2 separate regions of the Homo sapiens genome follow, and region 2 is linked to region 1. Evidence: promoter capture Hi-C in human tissues and cell types (Jung and others, 2019). All regions are on one chromosome and are shown on one strand. Each heading gives the region's core, a stretch centred on a gene start or on the middle of the fragment in contact. The rest is flanking DNA. Distances are from core to core; before and after follow the strand shown.

Region 1 (2,700 bases), core at 12-2,511:
CCATGCTCCTGCGTGTCTCTTGGGGGCTTTTCCTCCACTGGGTGCCACCTGGTCCCCCACCCTGCCTCAGAGTATTGGGGTCTGGGCTCGTCCACCCTGGATGCTGGCCAGGAGTGCACCTGCCTCTGGAGCTCGGGACGCTTGGCCCCACAGGACGGTGTCGCACACCACAGCCGGCCTAACTTCACCCCTGCCTGCTCCCTCTCCAGGGCCGGCCTGCAGGGCTGCACACTTTCTAGTTGGGGTGCAGGTCCCCGGGCTCCTGCCACAGATTCCTGTGGCTGGCCACCCTGCCAACTCTCCTGCAGGTGAGGGTGGGCGCAATCCCCAAGGTCCTTTCCACCAGATGCCACTGAGTCCCCCAGGGGCCAGGGCTGGACCCTGGAGGGGGTCACCTGGCTGAAGTCAGGACCAGGAGGGGCAGGGGGCAGTCGAGGGGCAGGGGGCGGTCCTGGGCCAGGCGTCTGGCAGATGGGCTTGCTGGAGGTGGGGGTTCCTGGTGTGCAGCAGGCGGTGCCAGAGGGGGTGACTGGGACCTGCTCTGGGCAAGCACAGGCGGTGCGTGACAGACCTGGGCTTCCATTGACTGCATCACGTCCAGCAGCAGGAAGGGGCCACGGGGGCACTGGCGTCGTCACGTGGGTCACGAGGTTCCATGTGATGCAGGGAGCGAGGCCGTCACGAGGGACTCACTGGTGCCTGCCTTGGGGCTCCGGGACTGTGGGCTGTCTCCATCCGGAGGTCTCCCTACCACCAGGCTCTGTGGGGCAGGGAAGCCCAGTGGGGTGCAGGGAGCCAGGAAGCTGGGGTGGGGTCAGGGCAGGGTCCACAGGGAGACCGGGCGAGGCTGGCAGCCTTCCCAGTCCGCGCAGCGTCTCTGCAGGGGGAGCAAGAGCTGCCCTTCCACCCCTCCCAGGGGACGGGTAGGGGCACTCTGGGCTTTTCCCACCCCCTCACGCAGGGACACAGGCCTGGTGGGTCTATGACTGAAATTGGCCAGACCGCATTCTGGTGGTTTTATTCGGAAGGGAAGTTTACCCTGTTCAGCAGAAGCTGAGATGGGAACAGGAAACCCACAGGGCCCCTTTATTCGGCAAAAATGTCAGTCAGCGCCCCGGGGAGCAGCCGAGGGTCCCTGAGTGTGTGAGTGAGGTGGGGAAACACAGATGGACTTTGGGGGGCTCCCCCTTCTACAGGAAACCCGGAGTGGACTGGAATGGTGCAGGGGGAGAACTCGCCCCTCCCATCGGGCGCCTCCTTCATACCGGCCCTTCCCCTCGGCTTTGCCTGGACAGCTCCTGCCTCCCGCAGGGCCCACCTGTGTCCCCCAGCGCCGCTCCACCCAGCAGGCCTGAGCCCCTCTCTGCTGCCAGACACCCCCTGCTGCCCACTCTCCTGCTGCTCGGGTTCTGAGGCACAGCTTGTCACACCGAGGCGGATTCTCTTTCTCTTTCTCTTTCTCTTCTGGCCCACAGCCGCAGCAATGGCGCTGAGTTCCTCTGCTGGAGTTCATCCTGCTAGCTGGGTTCCCGAGCTGCCGGTCTGAGCCTGAGGCATGGAGCCTCCTGGAGACTGGGGGCCTCCTCCCTGGAGATCCACCCCCAAAACCGACGTCTTGAGGCTGGTGAGCCCCCGAGCCTCCTCTCCGTCTGCTCGCAGATCCCAGTTCTGACCCCAGGGCCTCCCACAGATCTCTTCCCCATGCCCCTGTCCTGGCCGTTGCTGGCTCCGGCGTCCAGCCCGTCCCCTGCTGCCTGGGGCTCTCGGGTCAACCCAGACCCCCAGCACTGGGCTCACCACAGTGGGGTGAGCAGCAGAGCCACAGCCCTACCCAGCAGACCTCCTCCTGCGTGTGTCCCCCACTCACCACTCCGTCCACGGGCAGCTGGTGAGCCCCCATTTGGCCGGATGTGGGCACTTCTGGGGGCTGGGTGTCTCTGGGCGTCTCTGGGCGGGGCCCTCGAGCAGGTGACCCAACTCCCCGGCAGCCCTGACCTTGGTGACAGGTGATAAGATCAGTGTGCAGCAGGGGGCTGGACCCAGGTGGGTGGGGTGGGGATACTCTCCATGCTCATGTGGCACTCCTGCCTGTCCAGCCACTATCCCCATCAGGGGCCCCCGACTGCCCATCAGCCAGCCCAGGAACGAGGCCACGGCAGAGCCACCCTCCCCGATGTGGCCCTGATCAGCCTGTCACCCACTGTCTGGCTTGTGAGCCTCTGGGGCCCATCCCTGGCTGCCCCTGCTGGCTCTTCAGGGGTCAGCAGGTCCAACCTAGGCCAGCAGGGGGGCCGGCAGGTTGTCTGCCCAGTGGGCTCAATGCTCCCAGGTGTGGGGTGTGGGGTCCCTGGCGAGGGCAGAGTTCCAGTTCCCAGGGCTCCGCGCTGCCAGGCAGCGTCATCAGGGCTGGAGGAGGGGCGGTCCCCACCCTATCCCGGGCTCCAGCGGTCGGCAAGGTTGTTCCATGAGCCTGGCCTGGGGCCCGCTTCTGTCCTCTCTACCAGGCACTGCCGCTCCTCCCCATTGCACAGAGGGAGATTCAGGCTGTGGGGCCAAGCCTGGCAGAGCCCACAGGGCAGCCAGGGCATCTCCCAATGCCTGTCCTGACCCCCTTAGGTGCTGTATCTCACCTTCCTGGGAGCCCCCTGCTACGCCCCAGCTCTGCCGTCCTGCAAGGAGGACGAGTACCCAGTGGGCTCC
Region 2 (2,700 bases), core at 88-2,587, 360 kb before region 1:
GGGTTCCATTCCCCTTTACTTAAAAAATACATAAAAATATACGTTGGGTTTCAAAAATAAGAAAAAGCATCTCCAGACAAAAAAGACGATCTTCATTTTTAAAACCCATGACGCACTCTCGGGAAGGTGTTCCTGTGCTCTGGGCCTGGGGACGCTGGTGCCACCAGATTCCAGGATGGCCAGGTGGACCCGGGGCCAGTGCTCCCAGCCTTCCTTCTGTGCTGTTCTGTGGGCCCCCAGCCTGCCCTGCCCACAGAGCACGGCAAGCAGGTGGACCCCAGACCCGTGACAGAGAGCCACCTGGACATGCCAGGCCACAGCACTGGGCCACCTTTCCAGTGTGAAACAGGGCTTTAAAAGCCAGCGCTGAGCTCGGCCACCTCTTGACCTTCTGAACGGCTGTGGTTTCCAAACACGGATGGATAACCGGGCCGGGCGCAGGGGTGGCCTACTCACCTGGGGGCGAACTCCTTCTGGCACATGGGGCAGCTGCGCAGGGCCGCGGCACCCTCCACAGACGGCTGCTGCTCCACCCTGGGGGCCCTGCAGGGATCAGGTGCCGGGCGCTGGGGCAGGGACCTGGCGGGGGATTCCAGGTGCCCTCCTGCCCCGTGAAGCAGCCGGTAGGAACGGCCCGGGCCCCACAGGTCCGGCGGAAAGGGTGTCCAGGAAAAGGTCTTGGGTCCGACAGTGAAGACTTCAGTGGGCTCCGGGCCGCACCTGGGCTCCTGCAACACAGAGTTGTTGGGCCTTGCCCAGCGATGGCTCCCGCCCTGGAAACCCCTTCATCGCTAAGATGGGCCCAGTGGGCACACCTGTCCTGGGAAGGCGGGCAGTGAAGGCACCTCGTGATCCAGGATCAGCTCCGGGCTCACCGTGCGCAGTAGCTCGGCCCAGAGCCGCTCCCGCTCATCACCCCCCAGGAGAAACCAGGGGCGGCCGCCAGAAGGCCTGGGGCAGACAGAGAGGGCAGACAGGGGGTACTCAGTAGCGGAAACGCTATGGTGGGGAGACCCGGGAGGGCCTGGGGCAGAGAGAGCGGGGAGATGGGGGGTACTAGAGGGAAATTCGATGGTGCGGGAGGTGGCCGGCAGGGTTGGGGGAAGGGCTGCTGGGGCAGACAGTGCGGAGATGAGGGGTACTGGGGGTGGGGGAGCGGGGTGGGTGGGTGGAAATATGGGGTCCTCAGCGGGATGAGGCGATGGTTGGGGAGATTGCGGAGGGCCTGGGGAAGGTAGAGGGTTAGATGGGGGGTGCTCAGGGGAGACGCGATGATGGGAGAGGCGCGGGAGGGCCTGGGGCGGCGCGGGGGAAGCTCGGCGTGGGGTGGGGGCTCAAGGCGGGCGCTGAATGGCGGCGCGGGGTGGGGCGACGGGCGTGGGGGCCGGGCCCGGGGGCAGGGAGCCCTCCCCAGGGGGAGAATAGAGCGGGAGGCCCGCGGGGGCGCCGGGAAGCACGTGGGAGCGGGAAAACCGGCCGCGCCCCCGCCCGGCTCCCGGCCTCACCCGCCCGCCGGGCGCGGCCTCCGGCGGCTCAACCCCAGCCGCGGCCTCCGCGCCGCCTCCATCCAAGCCCGCGCCGGGCGGAAGTGAGCGCAAGCCCCGCCCCCGCCCCTCCAGGCCCCGCCCCCGCCCCGGCCCCGCCTCCAGACCTCTGCAGCGAGGCCGCCCCCCTCCGAGACAGTCGGAACCCCAGGGGCCCTGATCCCAGCCTGTAGGGAAACTGAGGCCAGGGTTCCTTCGTCCTGCACCGCACAGGGGGGCCTGGCGTGAGGGTGGGGGGCCCAGGTGGGGGAGCCCCGCCCGTGTCCCCTTTCCCGTCCGGGCAGCCCCCGGGCCGGAGCCCCCTCCGTTACCCCGATGGCTGCCCGGCCCGCCCCGGCACTGCCTCCTCCCGGCTGCACCCAACAGCTCCCGCCCCCGTTTCCGGCTCTGCGGAGCCGCCTCTCCTCCCAGGACCATTCCAGGAGTAAATAAAGCTTGAAATCCGCCGTCGCCACCACCGTTTCTTTACAAAAGGCGGGGAACTCAAGCTCCTTAACCAAGAAACCAGAGGCGAAGTGACAAAGTCCAGGTGGCTCACTTGGGCCTCAGGGGCCTGGGCCAGGGCCCTGGGGGCAGCTGAGGGGCTTTCCTGCCTGGACCCCGGGCTCTGCGACCTCAAAGTCGGCCACGTGGTGGCAGCAGCCGCCCAGGCACCCTGGTGCCACACTTGGCTGTGCCCAGTGCCCCATGGGCCCAGGCCACTTGCCTCTCCCTTGGCCCTGCTGGGCCCTGGAGTGGCTGCCACCCTCACGGAAGGAGTGGGGTCTACAGAGATCAGGGTCAGGGGCCCTCGCCAGACGCCACTCAGGGCTCTGGGACTCCTTGGCAGTTTCTGCCCTGCCCAGCCCCAGCAGCTTTGGGGCTATGCTGGGCACCCCTCCTGCAGGGCTCCCTGGCTGTTCCTACCCCTCACCTGGCCCCTCCCAGCCCCCAGTCGTCTGTGCCCTCCCTCCAGAACTCAGCTGTGGAGCCCGGCCCTGAACCCAGGCCACCCGAGTGGCCCACCGTCCTTCAAGGGGCCCCAGCCTGGAGGCCATAGGTTGGTGTTCAGGGAAAGGGTCAGCAGCAGGGCCTGGACTGGGAGGTCCCCCTCTCCCTGCATGAGTGGTTTTCTTCCGCACACCTTCCTGCTCTAGATGCTGGAGGCCCCCAGCAG

Evidence for each region. Contacts are between HindIII fragments. The study calls those that stand out against the background at their distance.
Region 2: a fragment that was not itself captured here is called in contact with the fragment with the promoter of TNFRSF14 in region 1 in 1 of the 25 tissues and cell types used here (dorsolateral prefrontal cortex).

What each region holds. Positions count from the first base shown.
Region 1 is chr1:2,555,110-2,557,809 of GRCh38, forward strand. TNFRSF14 (TNF receptor superfamily member 14) reads left to right here and starts at 1,262. Exons shown (of 8, transcript NM_003820.4): 1 at 1,262-1,624; 2 at 2,617-2,700. The coding sequence starts at 1,556. TNFRSF14-AS1 (TNFRSF14 antisense RNA 1) reads right to left here and starts at 1,902. Exons shown (of 7, transcript NR_037844.2): 1 at 1,868-1,902; 2 at 1-1,587. The HindIII fragment of the contact is 19,271 bases long and covers 1-2,700 here.
Region 2 is chr1:2,193,183-2,195,882 of GRCh38, forward strand. FAAP20 (FA core complex associated protein 20) reads right to left here and starts at 1,590. Exons shown (of 4, transcript NM_182533.4): 1 at 1,506-1,590; 2 at 816-951; 3 at 457-728. The coding sequence starts at 1,567. RefSeq lists silencers at 1,345-1,434, 1,445-1,924 and an enhancer at 2,558-2,700. The HindIII fragment of the contact is 5,508 bases long and covers 1-2,700 here.